6 separate regions of the Homo sapiens genome follow, and regions 2, 3, 4, 5 and 6 are each linked to region 1. The links are contacts of gene promoters, found by promoter capture Hi-C in blood cells and fetal thymus (Javierre and others, 2016). All regions are on one chromosome and are shown on one strand. Each heading gives the region's core, a stretch centred on a gene start or on the middle of the fragment in contact. The rest is flanking DNA. Distances are from core to core; before and after follow the strand shown.

Region 1 (3,288 bases), core at 572-3,071:
TTTATGCCAAGTCCTCTAAAACGCATCAGGGTATTACATCAACTTGTACAGAATATCAAGATCTTATCTTCTATTTTAGGTTCCATGTCAAATAAAGCTGAGTTAGGTTGTCCAAACAAACTCACCAGACAGGTTACATAAGATAGTGTACCACAACAAATTTAAATTTTGAACAAAACACATCTCTCCTCCTTTGGTCTCACACAGAAATTAAAGTCTCCAAATACAGACAATACTATCCATTCTCCAGCTCTTCTCCAGATTCACGAGTCCCAGCCAGGTCGGCCCATCCACACTCCCCGTTGAAGTCTGGTCCTTTCTTCAGTAGTTGCTGCATGGAGTCGTCTTCCAGAATTAATGCAGCTCCTTCAGCACCTCCAGAGCTGGAGAACTCCAACTGTGAGTCTCATGTGTCACACACAGACCCAAAGTTCCAGGGAGCTATCAGGTCACACAAGAAATAGCAAAGCACCTCAAAAATTTAGAAATAACCACCAAAGCCCGGGAACAAATGTGACTGCTGCAAGAGCTTACAATCTAGGCCCTAATTCCTGTATGTGAGAGCATTTTCAAACAAAATTACTTCCCAAACAAAAACACGTTAACAATCGAAACTCATATTGAGGTCATCAACCACAGACCATAGCAGAAAACGTAGTGTTAAGTGAGACAGAGCATAGACAGGAAAAAAGAGAAAACAAAAGGCTCTCTGGTTTCGGCTTCTCCAGGGTGTCAGCCAATCTCCACCAGTTGACCAGAATCCATTGGCTGGAAACCTAAAGCACAATGGGAAGAAATTCATCATCGAGAGGTTAATCCCAGGCACAACGACCCCCAAACCCTCACGAACGCCACTGTGCAGGACGCCACCTCTTCTGGCCACCACCTGACTCACTCCAGTCTCTAGCAACGTTGACTTGTCCAACGTCTTCCCCGAAAATCCTCTATTTCCACCCCCGCTTGCTGGACGGCCCGGGACCTTGTCCGTTTCTGTTTCCTTGGCGACTCTGAGATTTATGACCCTTCCACTGAACACGCATCACGCCCAAACCCGGCCACTCTGATTATCCCACGCCGCCACCGTCAAAAAACAAAACACGAAGACGGGGCCCAGATCGGCCCTGACCCGAGCACGCCTTTATTCTCCCGCCCCACCCCCGATTCCGGTGCATCTCGATGAAATCATCGCTCTCGAAGAGCGGCCAAGCTGGGGCCGCTCCTCGGCCTGGCGCGGGTGCCCGACTTACCGCCGACCGCGCTCACGACGACTCGCTCTTCTCTATCCGCCGGACCAGCTCCACCAGCATCTCTGCCATCTTCGCAATCTCCTTGGCCTTCTCCTCGGCCTTCTCGCACCTCTTGGCCGCCCGGCCCTCGGCCGCGTCGCCCGGGTTCTGGAGGTGGTTGAGGGCGCTCTCCTCCGAGGCCTCCACCTGCGTTTTGATCTGGATGAGCATATTGTCCATCTCCCACAGCTTGCTCCGGTTCCGCAGGTACGCCCGCCCGTGCTCGCGCGTCAGCGACGCGATGTCCTCGCGCATCTCGTTGATGACCGGGAGCAGAAACTGCTCGAAATCCTCCTCGGGCTCCAGCACCTCCACTTCCTCCGGTTCCGCCAGCTCGACGATGTCCAGGGGCCGCATCTCTTCCCACTGCCTCGGAACCGCAATAGCGATGTCTGTTGGAGAGAGAAAACCGACACTCGCTATGCTTAGCAATAGAGAGCCCGAATATTCCTGAAAACTTTTACCCTTTTTCAACTTTTCTTCTCAGAGAAGCCACGGACAAGCGACTTACGCGCAGAGTAACGGCGAACAAAATGGAGTCCCGGCCGTCAACCAGCGCTCTGCGCGTTGCGGCCCCTTTCACGACACAGCCGGGCCTCTTTACGGTCAGGGGGGCGAGCTGCGGGCGCGCGCACGTCTAGAAAGAGAGGCACCGGCGGCGGCGTCGCGGCCGCACGGACGCGCACGCAGGCACGCGCAGGTACGGGACCGCACGCTCTCGCTCGTTCCTGCTTTCCCGTTACCTCTGTGCGTCACCCCTGTTTTACCCTGTGTTTGGAGGGTGGCCTCTTCTGGGTGTTTCCCTCCGATAGGGCTTCTTGAGCACGCGAGTTTACATTTTTTAAAAAGGCCTCCCGCACTTCCCAGGCGCGGTGGCTCACGCCTGTAATCTCAGCACGTTGGGAGGCGAGGTGGGTGGATGGCTTGAGGTCAGGAATTCGAGACCAGCCTGGCCGACATGGCGAGACCCCGTCTCTACCAAAAATACAAAAATTAGCCGGGCGTCGTGTTGCACGCGTGTAACCCCAGCTGCTTGGGAGGCTGAGACAATCGTTTGAAAACGGGAGGCGGAGGTTGCAGTGAGCCCATATCGCGCCACTGCTCTCCAGCCTGTGCATCAGAGTGAGACTCCGTCGCAAAATAAATAAATAAAATATAAATGAAAATTAAAAAGGGCCTTCCACACTAGAAGAGGAGGATCCTACGTGATAATGCAGCTACCCCAGGTGGACGCTTAAAGCCCCTTCCTTTCACGCAGGGGGACCTGAGTCCCCTCAGCCGTTTTATTTACTTTTTTTTTTTTTTTTTTTGGAGACAGAGTCTGGCTCTATCGCCCAGGCTGGAGTGCAGTGGCACGATCTCGGCTCACTGCAAACTCCACCTCCGGGGTTCACACCATTCTCCTGCCTCAGCCTCGCGAGTAGCTGGGACTACAGGCGCCTGCCACCGCACCCGGCTAATTTTTTGTATTTTTAGTAGAGACGGGGTTTCACCGTGTTAGCCAGGATGGTCTCGATCTCCTGACCTCGTGATCCATCCACCTCGGCCTCCCAAAGTGCTGGGATTACAGGCGTAAGCCACCGTGCCGGGCCTTATTTACTTATTATTATTTAAAAAGTTTTTTTTTTTTATTGAGGCAGGGTCTCGGTCTGTCGCCCAGGCTGGAGTCCAGTGGTGGGATCATGGCTCACTGCAGCCTTGATCTTCTGGCCTCAAGTGATCCTTCCACTTCGGGCCTCCCAAAGTGCAGAGATTACAGGCATGAGCCGTGCGCCTGGCCCTTTCTGCCTTTTTAAAGAGTAGTTTTCCTTCTTCCTTGGATGACAGTCAGAAGGGTCTGGGTGTCTTTTCACCAAACCGGCCTCCCCACACCCCAAGGTGGAGCCTGGCTGCTCCGTCCTGAGGCCCCAGCAGACCCATGTTCAGTGTGTGGTGCAAGGCGCTGTCCAGAGCCTCTGAGCCCTTCCACTGGATCCTAGGCTCTTTGGGGTCTTAGCTCTGT
Region 2 (3,288 bases), core at 565-3,064, 250 kb before region 1:
GCAAGGGCTGCAGCAGGACCTCCAGGCGAGGGGTGTGGCACTAAGATCAGTGAGGGCATGGGGGCAGCGACCACCCGCAGGAATGCAGTGCAATGCTCTAGCTAACAGCCAGGACCTGCAAGTTCGTTTTGTCACCCTCGCAGAGTCCCTAGTCTGTCTGAGCAATTCCCCCGTCCCTCAGTCTAGGGTGGTGGTAAGGCCTGAGCAGAGAGCCCGGGGAAAGCCACCAGCGTGTGCCAGGCAGGCCAGGGAGGGAGCTCCGGCGAGTGCGGCCACTTCTGTTATCAGGGGCTCGCAGCTGGCAGTTTGTGGGAGGTCGAAGTGGTTACGTTTGACATATGTGATCACCAGGAATCGGATCTAGAGTAGAGCCACAAACAATGCCCTCAGGCACCACAGGGTCCGGCCCCTCGCTGCATAGGAAGGCCCAGGAGAGGGTCAGGGCTCACTCAAGCCCCCAGTGATCCCTGAGGCGCCGCGACCTTGAGTCTGCGGTCGCAGCGCCCAGTCCGGGGTTCTCGCAGTGCCGCCTCCACTTCACTGAAGAGCGCTCCTGGCTTTGCGCACAAAGCGCGGGCAGCCTGTGGTGTCACCCTTGGGTCCCCAGCCTGCAGTCTCCTGGAGGACAGGCCTGTGCCCAGCCACATGCGCGGGTGAATCCTGAGCGCCCCAAGGGGGGTTCCCAGACTTTAGTTCCGCGGTGGCTTCCGGCTCCCGTCTTGAGGGTCTGAAGGTGTGGGACTTGGCCCCCTGGGAGTGGCGGCGGTAGCGGGGGCACAGCGCTGGTTTGTGGAGGCCACGGTAGTGGGAAAGCAGCACTGCACTTGGGAATCAGATGAGCCATCGGCAGACCCCGGCTCACACCTCTGCCGGGTGCTCCTGGGCCAGAACTTTGGGTTCTCAGCCTCGGTGACAGACACCCTGAGACTGCTGGGAAAGACGCAGAGATGATGGGCCGTAGGTAGATCTGCTCTACCCATAGCAGCTCGGTCAGAGCAGGGTAGACCCGAGGGCTCCAGGAACTCGTGGAGCGGGGACTGACCTGTCTCCCTGCCCAGTCCCAGGACTCACGTCTTCCTCCTCCCTCTAGGGCCCCGGGCAGGAGGGACAGCACTGCTGGTGCCCACTGTGAGGGCTGGGAGGGACCACGTGGGGACGGCAAGAAACCCTCAGGAGGGAGCCTGTATTCTATTCAGGGAAATGAGCGGACACTTTGCCTGCCAGTTCTCCTCCCCTAGCCCTGGGAGGGAGAAGGGTCCCCATCTCACAGTTGAGAGAGCCACTGGCTCAGGGTCACAGCTCACGAGGAGGGGGCTCTTCCTATCACCCCTCCTCAGGGGCAACATCCCCACACAAACTCACACATCAGGGGCTCCTGGCCTTAGCGCTGCTGAGGACCAGCATTTCGTGTGCTCCTCAGCCTCAAAATGTAGCCTCACCTGGAAGGGGAGGGTCACTGTCCCCACCTGTGACAGGGCCAGAGGGTGGGGTCCTCCCCACCCCTGGACTGTGATAGGAAGTGGGAGACCGTGTGCCTGCCCCCTCGCTGCAAGGCCAGGGCCCTCCCCACCATCCTCCCCAACGGACGTGGTGGCCAGAGCCCTCGGCCCCAGTGGGCACACTTGGCTCTGCTGCTGCCCTGGCCCCTGCCCTCTGGTTCAGCCACCACTGGGAGCCAAGGACAGCCAAAGGAGTTGGTCTCCTGTGTCGAAGGGATAGCGTGACCTCCCTTCAGGGCGAGATCATGGTGACAGCACTGTGGTCAGCACTCAAGGATGAATGGCCTCTGTGGGGCTGACCCCTGCTGACCCCCGCTGACTAGGCAGGCCTGGAGCTGCAGATCCAACAAGGGCCCTTAAAGGGCTCTGCTAGCACAGGGGGGAGGGCAGGGAGTGAGAGACCGCCTGCAAAGAGGCAACTGTCTCCTTAGTTACTGGACTCAGTGCTGCAACTTCTCTTTTGCATTTCCGTTTTTGCTTTTTTTGAGTCCAGTGTGAAAGGAAAATAAAAACGTGGGACCGTAATTCACTGTGCTAAAAGGAAATACTTAAGATGAGAATAGACTCATGCAAGAAGCTGCGTTTCCTTATGTTCTTAAGCAGATAGCTACAGCGAAAGGGCCAGACAGGCCAGGCACGGTGGCTTCACGACTGTAATCCCAGCACTTTGAAAGGCCGAGGTGGAAGCATTGCTTGAGCCCAAGAATTCACGGCCAGCCTGGGCAGCATGGTGAAACCTCTGTCTACAAAAAATACAAAAATTAGCTGGGTGTGGTGGCGCACACCTGTGGTTCCAGCTACTCGGGAGGCTGAGGCTGCAGTGAGCCAAGATCGAGATCACGCCACTGCACTCCATCCTGGGTAAGCGTGAGATCCTGTCCAAAAAACAAAACAAAACAAAAAGGCCAGCTATCTCCACAGGTAGCTACTCTGTGTTCACTGTATCTTACGTAAAGTGAGGATTTAGTGCGTACAAGTCAAATACCTAATTGACTACTCCCCTACCTGCTCCTTTTCTCTCGCAACCTGTGGATTCAGTCGTGTGACCACACCCTCCCCCTTCCCCCTCCAGCCCACTTTTCCCCTTTAAATACAGAAGCTCTCAAAATCATCTTTGGAGAAAGGCACAGACCTCTCTCTCTCAGGTGTGTCCTGAGTCTTGGCAAAATACACTTCTAAATTAATTGAGGTCTGTCTCAGGTACTTTTTAGTTTGCACTCTAGTATTTATGCAGATGGACTATTTTATGTTTATAACCAACCCTTAGGAGAGAGGTCCAGTTATGATCTCCATTTACATCTAAAGATACCAACGTGTGAGACTGAGTAACTCGCCCAAGGACACACAGCCGGGGCTGACACAGCAGGACTCCCTGCAAGTACGCAGACAATACATAACTTTTTTTTTTGAGACGGAGTCTTGCTGTCACCCAGGCTGGAGTGCAGTGGCGCGATCTCAGATCACCACAACCTCTGCCTCCCGGGTTCAAGTGATTCTCCTGCCTCAGCCTCCGGAGTAGCTGGGATTACAGGCGCCTGTCATTATGCCTGGCTAATTTTTGTAGTTTTAGTAGAGACGGGGTTTCACCATGTTGGCCAGGTTGGTCTCGGAACTCCTGACCTCAGGTGATCCGCCCACCTTGGCCTCCCAAAGTGCTGGGTTAACAGGCATGAGCCACCGTGCCCAGAGACAATACGTAACTTAATGAGTGGGATTTTGTGAGATGGAGGTTTCAGTGTTAAATGGACTCTGCAGTCAGTGCCCAAGGTGAATTCGGGCTCCAGCATCC
Region 3 (3,288 bases), core at 365-2,864, 220 kb before region 1:
TACGCGCAAAAAATATCCTTGGAGAATACATCAGAACTCACACTAGTGGTTGCCGCTGGGGAGGAAACCTTTCACTGTGTATGTACACATACACTTGTAACTTCTGAATTTGAACCATATGAATAAATTACCTATTTCAGTTAAAATAAGTAACATGGTACAAGTTGGTCATCTTCACTACGCTGAATTCTGTATGGGCAAGGACAAAGTCTTATTCATCCAGGACACCTACTTTAGCAACAGGCATGTAAACAGGTACTCACTAAATGTTTGCTGAATTGAACTAAACTTTTGAAAATAATCATATTATTTTCATGCTCTTAGACACCAGTTCTATCGGAAATCCTACATTTTCATCATCTAAGTCTGAAACAGATGGGGTTCTACTGATCTTTAAACAGGCCTCCCAGATTGCTTCCTGAAAAGACTGTACTGACTCAGGAAAAGGGCCGGAAGCACATCCTCTTAAAAGCACCTTTCAGACTGACCAAGCAATGTGACAGAACAGAAAGATACAGGTTCTAGTCCCAGGCTGGCCCCAAACTGTCCCTTCAGGTCACTCAGCCTCCTGCACATCTCAGATGAATCTATGAAGTAAGCTTCAACCTGGCTTCTAAAGTATAACAATGCTGCCGAGAGAGCAGTGCTGACAACATCTAAACTATCAGACAATCCCAAAATGTCCTCTGGGAATTTTTTTGGCAGCTAAGACCTTTCAAGGAAACCCGGAATTCTGATAACACATAAATACATCAACATACTAGAAAGCGAAGGAATATGGTAGTGGTATGATGTAGAATCTTGCTTCTTTCCTCTTTTTCTTTCTTCCCAATCTGGAACCAGGTGAAATACAAAGTACATAAAGGAATATTTAAGGATGAAAAATGGGGCAATAAACAAACAGATAAAGGCTAACAATATTATTGGGTTTTTTCTTAGCAGTGTTTCAATGGGATTAAATTCATCCTCTACGGGTCTCTAGGTAGCTGATTAGAGCAGTGCCTCTCAAGTCGCCTGGGGGCTTCCTAGAATCACAGGCAAGCAGTCCCACACCTGGGCACTCTGATGCGACAAATAAGTAAGGCATGGTCCACAGCCACAAGGAGCTTATAGTCCAGGATATAAATAACTCATGAGAAATGAAAAATGCAATCAAAAAGAGGCATAAAGTGCATGAAAATTAAGAGAGGGGCAAAATTAATTCTGATGCAGAGTGGGGCTGGAGCAGGGGAGAGAGGGAATTAGGGAAAGTGTCAGTGAAGGAGGTGGTATATGAAATAAGTCTCATGGTATGGGTAGGATTTGGATGTGCAATGGTGGGTAGGGTGTGCAGGACAGTTGGGAGGAAGTGCAACACTCATCTGCTCTCTGGCCACAGGTGGCATGGCTTCTAAACACCTCCATCTCTTTTTTTCAATAAGCTGGGCCGGACGCGGTGGCTCACGCCTGTAATCCCAACACTTTGGGAGGCCAAGGCAGGTGGATCACTTGAAGTTAGGAGTTCAAGACCAGCCTGGCCAACCTGGTAAAACCCCGTCTCTACTAAAAATACAAATAATTAGCCGGGCGTGGTGGCGCATGCCTTTAATCCCAGCTACTTGGGAGGCTGAGGCAGGAGAATCACTTGAACCTGGGAGGTGGAGGTTGCAGTGAGCTGAGATCGCACCACTGCACTCAAGCCTGGGCGACAGAGCGAGACTCTGTCCCCAAAACAAAACAAAAACAAAAACAAAATTAAATAAACTATTTCTGGAGAAAGGCTAGGCACTCACATATCGAAAACAGTGGAAAAATGGGCAGACTGCTGTGCTTTTTTTGTGAAACAGTTTATTGTCTTAAGTGTTATTTCTTGTACAATCAGTTTAACCTTAAGCCATTTCTTGGGCATACAGTGGAGAGGTACAATGACTCTCATTAACACAACTTAATGTGATCCTCATTCCATAGCCTTAACATATAATCCACACAGCTTCTGGAATATGTACTTTGTATAAAGCAAGATACATCTGTATAGGTTCTGTAGAAGAAATTTTGTTGCATTTGGGCTGTGGGTGAATTTCTACATGTACCACAATGTATTTTTGAGAACTCCATAGAGATATAATTTGTTTTATATGTAAAACACAAGTTTTGATAAAGTGATCAACTTCTAAGAGTCAGTTAGACAGGTTTGCTACACTTTAATAGCAGCCACTTCCTGATTCATCAACTTTGAATGTTAGAACACTTTCATGTTAGGTTTTTGCTTTAAGCATAATACATGTATTTTTTTTTTTTTTTTTTTTTTGAGATGGAGTCTCACCCTGTCACCCAGGCTGGAGTACAGAACACGATCTCGGCTCACTGCAACCTTTGCCTCTCGGGTTCAAGTGATTCTCCTGCCTCAGCCTCCCAAGGAGCTGGGATTACAGGTGCCTGCCACCACGCCTGGGTAATTTTTGTATTTTTAGTAGAGACGGGGTCTCACCATGTTGGCCAAGCTGGTCTTGAACTCCTGACCTCAAATGATCTACCCACTTCGGCCTCCCAAAGTGCTGGGATTACAGGCGTGAGCCACTGCACCCGGCCAATAACATGCATCTTAAGACAACACATAGGAATCTTACATCCTGTGATTTTTAAAAGCTTTTTCTCTCCAGAAAAACTCTACTGTCTAGTTCAAATTCATAAATATCAAATCCATTTTAAGTCCTTACATGTAAAATTAGAACAATTTAAGTTTTAAGACATTTAAGCTAATTTCCCAATAATTTAACCCTATCTTTCATTGACTGGCATGTCTGTTCTTGGGTTAAACTCTGATCAAATCCTTTTGTCAAATACCAACACGCAGACACATACCTCTTCCAGCTGTCCCGAAGAAACTGGATTATCTTCATAAGCAGGAAACTGACAACCTGCTTTGCAACCACAAAAATTATTAATTTCTTCCTCGCATTGTGCCATTATTTTACAATTTGCTTCTGAGCTTTCTAAATCTATTTCCAGGGATTCATTCATGCTACATTCCAAACACTGATTTTGCTTTCCTACTGAAAGAATCCCAGTTGATTCCTCCTGGGAATCCAGTGATGTCTGAGCACTCTTTTCCATCCCAGATTTTTTTAACCTGGGAAGGAATTTTCCAGACTCAAGCTCTGATTTTCCATAGTAATGGCCTTCTTTCTCTGCATCTTCTTCCAAAGGTTTGAGATCTGCCTGCGGATCTTCAAATATATCAACTTGAGAAGGAATGGGAATATTTGCTTCATCTTTCTCAGATTCAAATTCTGACTCGCTTCCTCCTCC
Region 4 (3,288 bases), core at 517-3,016, 180 kb before region 1:
AGTATTGTTAATAAATGTTAGTAAAAGCATCAAGTCAGAAAGACAAATACCATTACCCAAAGATTTAAGACTGAGTTTCTTGCATTTATCTATCACTATGTAGTAAATTTTACACACATTAAATATAAAGACAACAGTTTTAAGTTCACCGCAGGACTAAGTTACTAAATTAATGTGTCACTAATACATGTTTTGCTACTTTTAAAATCCTCTCTACTATATTATCTTTTCTGAATTATGACAACTAGATAAATTAAAGCGAAGATTTTCTGTAACTTTCACCAGCTGAACTTTTCCAACTGACTTTCAAAACATTTTCCATAATTCATTTAACATTTGGATCTCAGGATGCCAGAGATATTGTCAATTAAATAACACACTCAATTCTGGAGACGTGCAAGAAATATGAAGAAAACGACCCCTAGAACACTATAATAAAATTACTCAAACTTGTCATAAACAGAAAAATTTTAAAGCACTCAGAGAAAAAAGAAACATTAAATATAGCAAACAAAAGATAAGTATGACCTCAGTTTTCTTGCTGGAAACAATGCAAGTGAGCAGATAATGGAGCAAAAACTTTAAAGTACTAAAAGAAAAAAAAACTGTCAACCTAGAATTCTATACTCATTGAAAGTGTCTTTCAAAAAGATACTTGCACACTCGTTCGTATTTATAGCAGCACAATTTGCTATTGCAAAAATATGGTACCAGCCCAAATGCCCATCAATCAATGAGGGGATAAAGAAATTGTGGTATATGTATATACATATATATATATACACACACACACACACACATATATACATGTATATATGTATACACATACACGTATATACACGTATCTATATACACGTATATATATATAGATATGTGTATATATGTGTGTATATATATACACCATGGACTACTACTCAGCCACAAAAAGGAACGAAGTAATGGCATTTGCAGTGACCCTGATGGAACCAGAGACCATTATTCTAAGTGAAGTAATATAGGAATAGAAAACCAAACACTGTATGTTTTCACTCACAAGCGGGAGCTAAGCTATGAGGATGCAAAGGCATAAGAATGATACCAGTGGACTTTGGAAATTCAGGGGGAAAGGGTGGGAGACGGGTAAGAGATAAAAAGACTACAAACTGGGTAGAGTGTATGCCGCTCAGGTGATGGGTGCACCAAAATCTCAGAAATCACCACTAAAGGACTTACTCATGTAACTATCACCTGTTCCCCAAAAACCTATGGAAATAAAAAATAAAAATAAAAAGCAAAAAATTAAAAACTTTCAAAATGAAAGTGAAACAAATGCTTTCTCTGATATGCAAAAACTGAAGGAATTTATCGCCAGCAAATGCTATGGATTTAAATATCACCTCCAAGCCTCATGTTGAAATTTAACTGCCATTGTGATGGTATTAAGAGGTAAGACCTTTAAGAGGTGATTAGGTCATGAGGGCTCCAACTTCATGTCACAGGAGTGGGCTCCTGATAAAAGGATAAGTTCAGCCCCATTTCTGTCTCAAGCACTCTCGCCTCCTCTTACCCTCCCCATCATGTGATGCTTTCTGCCATGGCATGACCCTCACTACAGGCCAGTGCCATGCTTTTGGACTTCCCAGCCTCCAGGAACTGTGAGCCAAATAAACTATTCTTTATAAATACCTAATCTGTGTCATTCTGTTATAGCAACAGAAAACAGACTAAGACAGAACAAAATGTGGATCCATTCAAGGGAACAAAGAGCACCAGAAATAACAACATTTGTCTTATTATTTAAATATCTTTAAAAGACAATTGCTTAAACAAAAATAATACAAAACATTGTAGAGCTTTTATTTAATAACATACATATAAGTAAAACATAAGCCAACAGTAGGATAAAGGCCAGGAGTGGGGAAATGTAAGAATACTATTATTAAGTTCTTGTATGAAAATGGTTTATCATTTGAAGACAAATTCTAATAACATAGCTGTTAATAATAATGAATGTAAATGACCTAAACACATCAATTAAAAGGCAGAGATACACTGAATTTTAAAACAGCAACACCTAATTATATGCTGCCTATTAAAAAACAAACCCTCCACTTAATTTTTTCCACAGAATTCAAATTTATATTCCTAAATGTCAATCTGGTAGATGTAGCCTAAACATGCCAGCTTTTCCCCAAACTTCTCTACCTGCTCTACCCAAGTAAGATGTGGCGTCTTCTTTTTTCTTTTTAACTTTTATTTTAGATTCAGGGGGTACGTGTGCAAGTTTGTTACCTGGGTATGTTGCATGATGCTGAGGTTTGGGGTATGAATTATTCCATTGCCCAGGTACTGAGTACAGTACCCAACAGTTAGTTTTTTCAACACCTACTGCCTCCCTCCCTCATCACTATAGCAGTCTTCAGTGTTTAGTGCTGTCACCTTTACATCCACAAGTAACTGATGTTTAACTCCCACTTCTAAGTGAGAACACACAGTATTTTATTTTCTGTTCCTACGTTAATTCACTTAGGATATTATCCTCCAGCTGCATCCACGTTGCTGCAAAGGACATGGTTTCATTCTTTTTTTAATGGCTGCATAGTATTCCATGGTATATATGTACCACATTTTATTTATGCAATCCACTGTTGATGGGCACCTAGGTTGATTCCGTATCTTTGCTAGTGTGAATAGTGCCGTGATGAACATATGAGTACATGTGTCTTTTTGGTAGAATAATTTCTTTTCTGAGATGTAGCTAGTAATGGGATTGCTGGGTCAAATGGTAGTTCTGTTTTAAGTTCTTTGAGAAATCTCCAAACTGCTTTCCACAGTGGCTGAACTAATTTAGATTCCCACCAACAGTGCATGAGTGTTCCCTTTTCTCTGCAGCCTCATTAGCATCTGTTTTTTAACTTCTAATGACAGCCATTCTGACTGTTGTGAGATGTTAACTCATTGTGGTTTTGATTTGCATTTCTCTGATAATCAGCGATGTGGAACTTTTTTTATACATTTGTTGGCTGCTTGTATGTCTTCTTTTGAAAATTGTCTGTTCATGTCTTTTGCCCACTTTTTAGTGGGGTCTTTTTTTTCTTGTTGAACTGTTTAAGTTTCCAATAGATTCTGGATATTGGACCTGTGTCAGATGCACAGTTTGCAAATATTTTCTCCTATTCTGTAGGTGGTCTGTATATGAAATGGTGTATCTATTAATACTGTACACCGTTTACTCTATTGATAATTTCTTTTGCTGTACATAAGCTCTTTGGCTTAATTAGATCTCATTTGTCAATGTTCGTTTTTGTT
Region 5 (3,288 bases), core at 425-2,924, 160 kb before region 1:
GGTAAATGTAAAGGAAGAAAATAGGTAGGAAAAATACCCACTGTATGGCTCAGAAAAGGAAAAACAAACATGGAAAGAAAATAGCTAACAATCCAAACATTAAACATAAAAATCCACTTCCAAATGACTCATGTCAAATATAAAATTGGTTATTCCTTTTTTATAAATTCTGGTCAAGTTCTTTAACATGAAATACTTGACTCTGAGGTTAGTAAAAAGTATTCTCTTTAAGTGAATATGAAATTAGACAACTCTAGAAAGAAATTACTATACTTGAAATTTTAATCAGGGTAATCTTATCCAAATGAATCCTTCAAGTATTTTCTAACTACCAGTAACTACGTAACTACTGGAATCTTCCAACTATTACCTAACTACCAGTAACCAGATAACTTGAGAGCTGTGTGACAGACCCTTGAACATTCATGTTTCAATGTTTGGCATTCATGTTTGATAATGTCAAAGATTTGTGTAATTTATCAAAAGTCACCCCCTACAAATCTTTCTCTTACCTTGTCTTCTCAATCTATATTTCCAACTACTCATGGAATATTTCCATTTGAACTTAAGGGAGCTGGGCTTCAATTTATATGAGAAAGTCCATATATATATATATATATATATATGCACTCATTTTAATTTCTTTCAAGAGGTAAAGTATTCTTCTGTCATCCAGGCTGGAGGTGCAGTGGTACAATCATAGCTTACTACAGCCTAGAACTCCTGGGCTCAAGTGATCCTCCCACCTCACCTTCCACAGTAGCAGGGACCACAAGCATGCACCCACCAAACCTGGCTTTTTTTTTTTTTTTTTTTTTTGGTCAAGACAGAGTATGTTGCTCAAGTATGCCCAGTATGTTGCCTAGGCTGGTCCTGAACTCTTGACCTCAAGTGATCCTTCCATCTCAGCCACCTAAAGAGTTGGGATTACAAGCATGAGCCACTGCCCCCAGCTATATGCACTCATATTCGACTATTACTCTTCTTTCAACCTTCTGTCATTTTTTCCTTCCTTGAGAGAACCTCACACCAATTAATTTCATTCCTCTGTGCTCCTTACATCACCAACATACCACACCTTGCTCTATACCTGAATCACCACTCTGTATTCTATGTTATAGCAAAATCCCCTTTCTGTCTTTATGTCCTTGGGGAAGACGTGAAGATGAAGCATTCTGGTTGGAGTCAACTTCCATCAGAAGAAAAGGTTAATTGTGCACTGTAACTCTGTTCGTACATAAGACACACACACACATAGTTATTTAGTAAGGGGGCTGGTGGGTTGGGGGGGGTTGAGAAGAGTCACAGAGAAAGAGAAAGAGACTTACCCCATATTTCTCCAGAACGCCAACCAATGAGTCAAATGAAATCAATCAAAAAATTTCTAAGAAAAATATTGTCCAACCATGGCACGCTGTGATGTACAACCCAGACCCTCAACTGAAGGCCATGCAGCCCCAGCTGCTGGGAGTGCTCCGTCAGCCCCTTCAAGTACTGCTGTGGCTACAGAGAACTGCCTCACCCGACATCTTGCCCTCTTCCAGGCAAGTCATCCTGACTGACTCAGAGAGCGTACAGGCCTGGCTACCCAGCCCAAGCCGGGACAGCTCCCACGGGCTATTCTAATGGGGTTGGCCAAGGCTATGCTATAATTGGGCATGCAAGGTAGTTCAACTTCTCCATTCCCTGAGTCTGGACCCTACGAGCAAGCCCTAATCAACATTCTGCATGCTAAATTGTCTGCATTTGCTTCCCAAAGTACCCGCCTTCCCAGAGAACCCAACTTGTGACACTCATGAAGGAACTAACAGCCCTATCAGGATCAAGGGCCCCTTTATTGCATAAATAAATACCCACCACCATTTAGTGGGTATTTATTATGTGCAATACACAGTGAGGGATACAAACTTTATCTGGAAGGTAATGGTGGCATGTATACAAATAACTTCTAAAGCTAAAAGAGTATGATTTCAGCACATGCACAAAATGATCATCCTCGCAGGCCCTGTATTTTTCTTTGTACTGCAAATAAACCAGAATCCACGTTTCTACTTTATGAAAACCCTATGTTCTACATTTAAAAACATGGATATGCTAATTAAAGTCCTAAGCACTGTAAGCCACTTAATAGCACCTTTCTCTTTTTTTTTTTTCCTTTTCGTCCTGTCACCCAGTCTGGAGTGCAGTGGAGCAATCATAGTTCGCTGCAGCTTGGAATTCCTGGGCTCAAGCAATCCTCCCACCTCAGCCTCCAGAGTAGCTAAGACGACAAGTGTGTGGCCATCAAGTCCAGCTTTTTTCTTTGGTAGAGATAGGGTCGCACTACATTGCTCAGGCTGGTCACGAACTCCTAGGCTCAAGCAATCCTCCCACCTCAGCCTCCCAAAGGGCCAGGATTACAGGCATGAGCCACCATGCCTGGCCTAGTGGCATCTTTTCAGTCTCCTATAACCACCATCCACTTATTCTTTGAACAAAGGTGAACTGAACAAAGGTGAAATGAATCTCTAGAACTGCATTGTCCAATGAATATGGTAGCCACTAGTGGCTATTTACATTTTAATTAATTAAAATTAAATAAAATTGAAAATTCAGTTCTTTAATGGCACAAGCCACATTTCCAGTGTTAATAGCCCCATGTAGCCAGTGGATACTGAATAGAAAAGACAGTGAACATTTCCATTATCAAACAAAGTTCTACTGGACACAACAGGTCTAACACATCAAGATTTGGGGAAATGCTGACAATTCCACATCCTGGTTCAATACCCAGCTGCTGAACTTAATTTCCTACAAACTAAGAAAATTACAAATTATCCTATGACCAAATTATCAAGAACTCTGTCTATATTTATATTTGTATTCCCACTACATTCCATGTTAATAAGCTGTTGGAAAAGCACTGCTGAACTGAACAAACCCTTAAGAACCTGCCTGCCCTTCCTAACTGGGCTCTTCGTATCACCCCCCTCACATAACCTTTCAGAGTGATGAGCCCAGGAGCCAACCTGGCTCTGCATTTTCTATGTGACCCAAAACTATATAAAATGTTACCAAATGACATTTCTGCCATTCTGCTTACTTCATTTACAGAATTCAAACAAGTATAATGAGCAAGGTCTTTTCCTCCAAATTTTCTTTTTTTTTTTTGAGACGGAGTTTCCCTCTGTCGCCCAGGCTGCAGTGCAGTGGCATGATCTCGTCTCACCACAACCTCCACCTCCTGGGTTAAAGTGATTCTCCTGCATCAGCCTCCTGCGTAGCTGGGATTACAGGTGCATACCACCA
Region 6 (3,288 bases), core at 244-2,743, 130 kb before region 1:
AGATTTTTGGAGGGGCTGAGCCAAGGATCTGGTGCTGGGGCCTGTGACGGGGAGCCCAGGGACCAGAATTAAGGTTGGGGGTGTCTTAGTTGGAGTCCCTAGAAGCCTTTGGACGAGGATTCAGTGCAGTTTATTACAGAGACAGGGTCTGCAGAATATGACCCCCCAAAGAAGTGTACCTCCTAATCCCTGGAACCAGCGACTATGTTACCTTACCTGGCAAAAGGGACTTTGCTGATGGGATTAAGGCTATGGATCTTGAGAAGGAGAGATCGTGACCCCCTGCTTTATAACCTCCCTTGGCTCCCCATCGTCCCCACAGTCCCAGGCTCCCTGCTTTCCTAGCGCAACCCTCCATCCTGTCCCTATAGACACCCCAGCCTCCAGATGTACCCAGGTACTTACACTTCTCTCAATGGGACATGCTTGTCACACCTCTCTGCCTTTGCAAATGCTGGTCCCACTGCCTGGAAAGCCCCCCGCCACTCTGCTTAACAACTGTTTTCTCCAGTGTGTCCTCTTTCTGGAAGCTTACCTTGTGTTCCCCCAGGTGGGTGAGGGGGTCTCTCTTGCAATGCTCCACTGCTAGCCCTTTCGGGCCCCCACCCCAAGGTGCCGCACTGGACAAATATGTTCTACCCACCAAGCTATGGGCTCCTCTGGGGAGCAGCTTTGCCTGCCACAACTTCGCTTCCCGGGCACCCAGCCCAGGGCCTGGCACACAGGACGGCTCAGGGAAGGACTCTCCTCTGCAGAGCAGGAGTCATGGGAAAGGCACGCATTGCTGCCCACGGCCCAGCCACTGCCCTCTCAGACCTGGCTATTTTTATTTCTTTTCCCTGCAGAGCTCAGGCCTGTGGGGCAGGTTCTCAGACCAAGCAAGTGAGACCTGCCAGATGGACTGAAGACATCTGCTGATGCTGCCCCAGCCACAGGCCAGCAGGAGTGGCCGTAGGGGCTCCTCCTCTAGGGCACAGCCCCAGACCTCAGCCAGGGAGCTTGCTACAGGCTCAGAGCCACCAGGCACCGCAGGCGCTGATGCATCCCAATGCTCAGGTCCAGCTTTGCCATGTTCTTGCTGTATGCCCAGAAGTAAATCACGTCACCTTCTTGTCTCCTTGTCTTGGCACATAGTAGGTGCTTGTAGGTGGCACTTTCTATGCTGGACCCTCTATCCTCATCAGCTTCATAATTCTCAGCTTCAGTGACTGTGCCTGCAGTAAATGAGCAGCTGCTCGGCACTGTGCTAGGTTCCCCACTTTATGAATGAGGCAATTGAGGCTCAGAGAGGCTAAGTAACTTGGCTAAGGTCACACAGCTGGCTGGTGGCAGAGCCAGGAGTTAACCCTGGGTCTTTGGACCCCACAGCCCAAGTTCACAGCCAATCGGCTTCATGACTATGGCCCCTGTGATGATCCAACCCCAAGGAAGCTGCAGCCTTGCTCCAATCCCTCCAACGATACAGCATGACAGGTGCACAGAGCTGTCTCCGTGAGGTCCCCTTATTTTGTGGACAAGCCATAGGGAGGAATGTGGCTACTCACATGAGAGGGCCCCTGCCTTCCTCCTGGAGCCACCTGGAGTCACCACACCAGGCAGCTCATCCCTGCTTGGTGACCCAATGTACAGAAAGAGCAGAGCCTTGTCCTAAGTCACACAGCATGGGAGTGACACAGCCAGAACTGGAACACAGGCCAGCCCTGTCCTGCCCTGCCATACAAGAAAGGTGGCCTGCCTGCACCTTGTCAGAAGACCCGAAAGCATTGCTGAAATTCCAGTTCCTAAATCTATGGCTTGTGCATCTCTATGGTTCCATCCCCACCACTGCAACCCCAAGGATCCTAGGACAAGGTGTGGAACAAGGATGGACAAATACATGAAAGAATTCTTCAACTCCTCTGACATTGCGTTATTACTGATTTGAATCTGGACTCATAAAGTAAGGACGTTCAGTATGTCTAAATTCTGTGACACCTTGAGGTCCCTCTTGAATGGGAGGCTCCGCAGTGAGAGTCAGGAGACTTCTTTGAATTCGAGTTGTCACACGTACCAGCTGTGGGACACCTGAGAAGTTGCTTAACCCCTCTGAGCCTGTTACCTCATCTGTAAGCTGATTCTACCCTGGAGGAGGATGAAAGTGTGATAAAACCGAGGTAATAAAACCTACCATACAGGTCATAGGGCGAATGAAATCAGAGGTAAAAGCACCTGCAGATAAGGACAAAATCACAGCAGCCCTAAAATGCACCAGGCCCTGTTTCTGTATAGATATTGTGCGGGCTTGTCCTGGAGCCAGACTGTCTGGGTTCAAGGCCTGGCTCAATTGATCACTAGCTGTGTGACCTAAGGCACATCAGTTTGAGCTCTCTGGTCCTCAGTTTCCTTATCTGTAAAATGGAGGTGATAATATGAACTACCTCACGGGGTTGTGATGAGAATTACAACCTAGAAGCTTTACATGGAGCTTCTCCATGTAAAATGATTAGTACGGTGCAGGACCGGTCAGCTGTCAACAACATCAATAACACTAAGGAACAGACCCAGAGAGAAACAGCTTGGCCACAGTCACCCTGCTAAACTCCAGGATCCGTCCACCATCACACACAAGCCCACCAGCTGCACTTAGAAACCACCCACCCTCGGGGAGTGAGCCAGGCTGAGCAGTGGGCCCCTGAGACAGCTGGGGTGTTGGGGTGCTCCATCCTTGGGCCAAGCCAGGCCTGGGGACTCTGTTATCAGCACCACATTTAGTGCCTCGAAATGGGTGTGCCCCTATTGGTCCATACTGGGTGCAGCTGCTTTTGCCCATGCTGGGTAGTAAGCAGAGGGAGACCTGGGAAGAGAGTGGGGGTGGGGAGAGGAAGGGGAGCACACAGAGGCAGCAGCTGCTCAGAAGGGGCATCCCCACAACCGCAGCTGCACCCAGGTATGGGCCCCATCCTGTTAGAGGTTCAAACTCCGAGAGGGCCCCCGATACCCTGCTCTGGATGGCCGAATCCCTTGACTAGAATCACGGAGACCCAATGGCAATTCTAGATGCCAGGGTGTTGGTTAACAAAGCCCTTCCTCCCAGAAAATTCTCTTCCCAGCAAGAATGGGCAGCAAATTAGTGATTCTCCAGGCATTTGTGTGTGGGCTGGGAACACCTCTTCCTAGTGTCGGGCTTGTAGTGGGGGCCTGCTGGCCGTCACTTGCTACTGGTGCTCATCATGACAAGAGAGATTTCCTGGGAAGCTAAAGCATCACTGGAGCTTTGCATGATGAGTAGGCCTGTCCCATTTATTTGGC

Evidence for each region. Contacts are between HindIII fragments. The CHiCAGO score rates a contact against its expected background, and 5 or more counts as called.
Region 2: a contact is called between a fragment that was not itself captured here and the fragment with the promoter of MRFAP1 in region 1, in 1 of 17 cell types (naive CD8 T cells). The highest score is 5.1, in naive CD8 T cells.
Region 3: a contact is called between a fragment that was not itself captured here and the fragment with the promoter of MRFAP1 in region 1, in 2 of 17 cell types (non-activated CD4 T cells and naive CD8 T cells). The highest score is 8.2, in non-activated CD4 T cells.
Region 4: a fragment that was not itself captured here is called in contact with the fragment with the promoter of MRFAP1 in region 1 in 2 of 17 cell types (neutrophils and naive CD8 T cells); the score reaches 7.9 in neutrophils.
Region 5: a fragment that was not itself captured here is called in contact with the fragment with the promoter of MRFAP1 in region 1 in 2 of 17 cell types (neutrophils and naive CD8 T cells); the score reaches 9.2 in neutrophils.
Region 6: a fragment that was not itself captured here is called in contact with the fragment with the promoter of MRFAP1 in region 1 in 3 of 17 cell types (non-activated CD4 T cells, neutrophils and naive CD8 T cells); the score reaches 5.3 in non-activated CD4 T cells.

What each region holds. Positions count from the first base shown.
Region 1 is chr4:6,639,218-6,642,505 of GRCh38, reverse strand. MRFAP1 (Morf4 family associated protein 1) reads right to left here and starts at 1,821. Exons shown (of 2, transcript NM_033296.3): 1 at 1,248-1,821; 2 at 1-776. The coding sequence starts at 1,643. The coding sequence ends at 1,260. It overlaps LOC124900653 (a long non-coding RNA gene), which reads left to right and starts at 1,885. Exons shown (of 2, transcript XR_007058007.1): 1 at 1,885-1,986. RefSeq lists a silencer at 784-853 and an enhancer at 2,827-3,288. The HindIII fragment of the contact is 23,430 bases long and covers 1-3,288 here.
Region 2 is chr4:6,886,662-6,889,949 of GRCh38, reverse strand. No RefSeq gene overlaps it. Among named protein-coding and RNA genes, the nearest start is that of TBC1D14, 22 kb to the left of the region's middle. The HindIII fragment of the contact is 6,064 bases long and covers 1-3,288 here.
Region 3 is chr4:6,863,737-6,867,024 of GRCh38, reverse strand. KIAA0232 reads right to left here. Exons shown (of 10, transcript NM_014743.3): 7 at 2,842-3,288. Among named protein-coding and RNA genes, the nearest start is that of TBC1D14, 44 kb to the left of the region's middle. The HindIII fragment of the contact is 2,026 bases long and covers 602-2,627 here.
Region 4 is chr4:6,819,199-6,822,486 of GRCh38, reverse strand. The region is part of intron 2 of KIAA0232; the gene reads right to left. Among named protein-coding and RNA genes, the nearest start is that of KIAA0232, 38 kb to the right of the region's middle. The HindIII fragment of the contact is 6,164 bases long and covers 1-3,288 here.
Region 5 is chr4:6,800,543-6,803,830 of GRCh38, reverse strand. All of the region lies in intron 1 of KIAA0232, which reads right to left. Among named protein-coding and RNA genes, the nearest start is that of KIAA0232, 19 kb to the right of the region's middle. The HindIII fragment of the contact is 7,315 bases long and covers 1-3,288 here.
Region 6 is chr4:6,768,946-6,772,233 of GRCh38, reverse strand. No RefSeq gene overlaps it. Among named protein-coding and RNA genes, the nearest start is that of KIAA0232, 12 kb to the left of the region's middle. The HindIII fragment of the contact is 1,922 bases long and covers 533-2,454 here.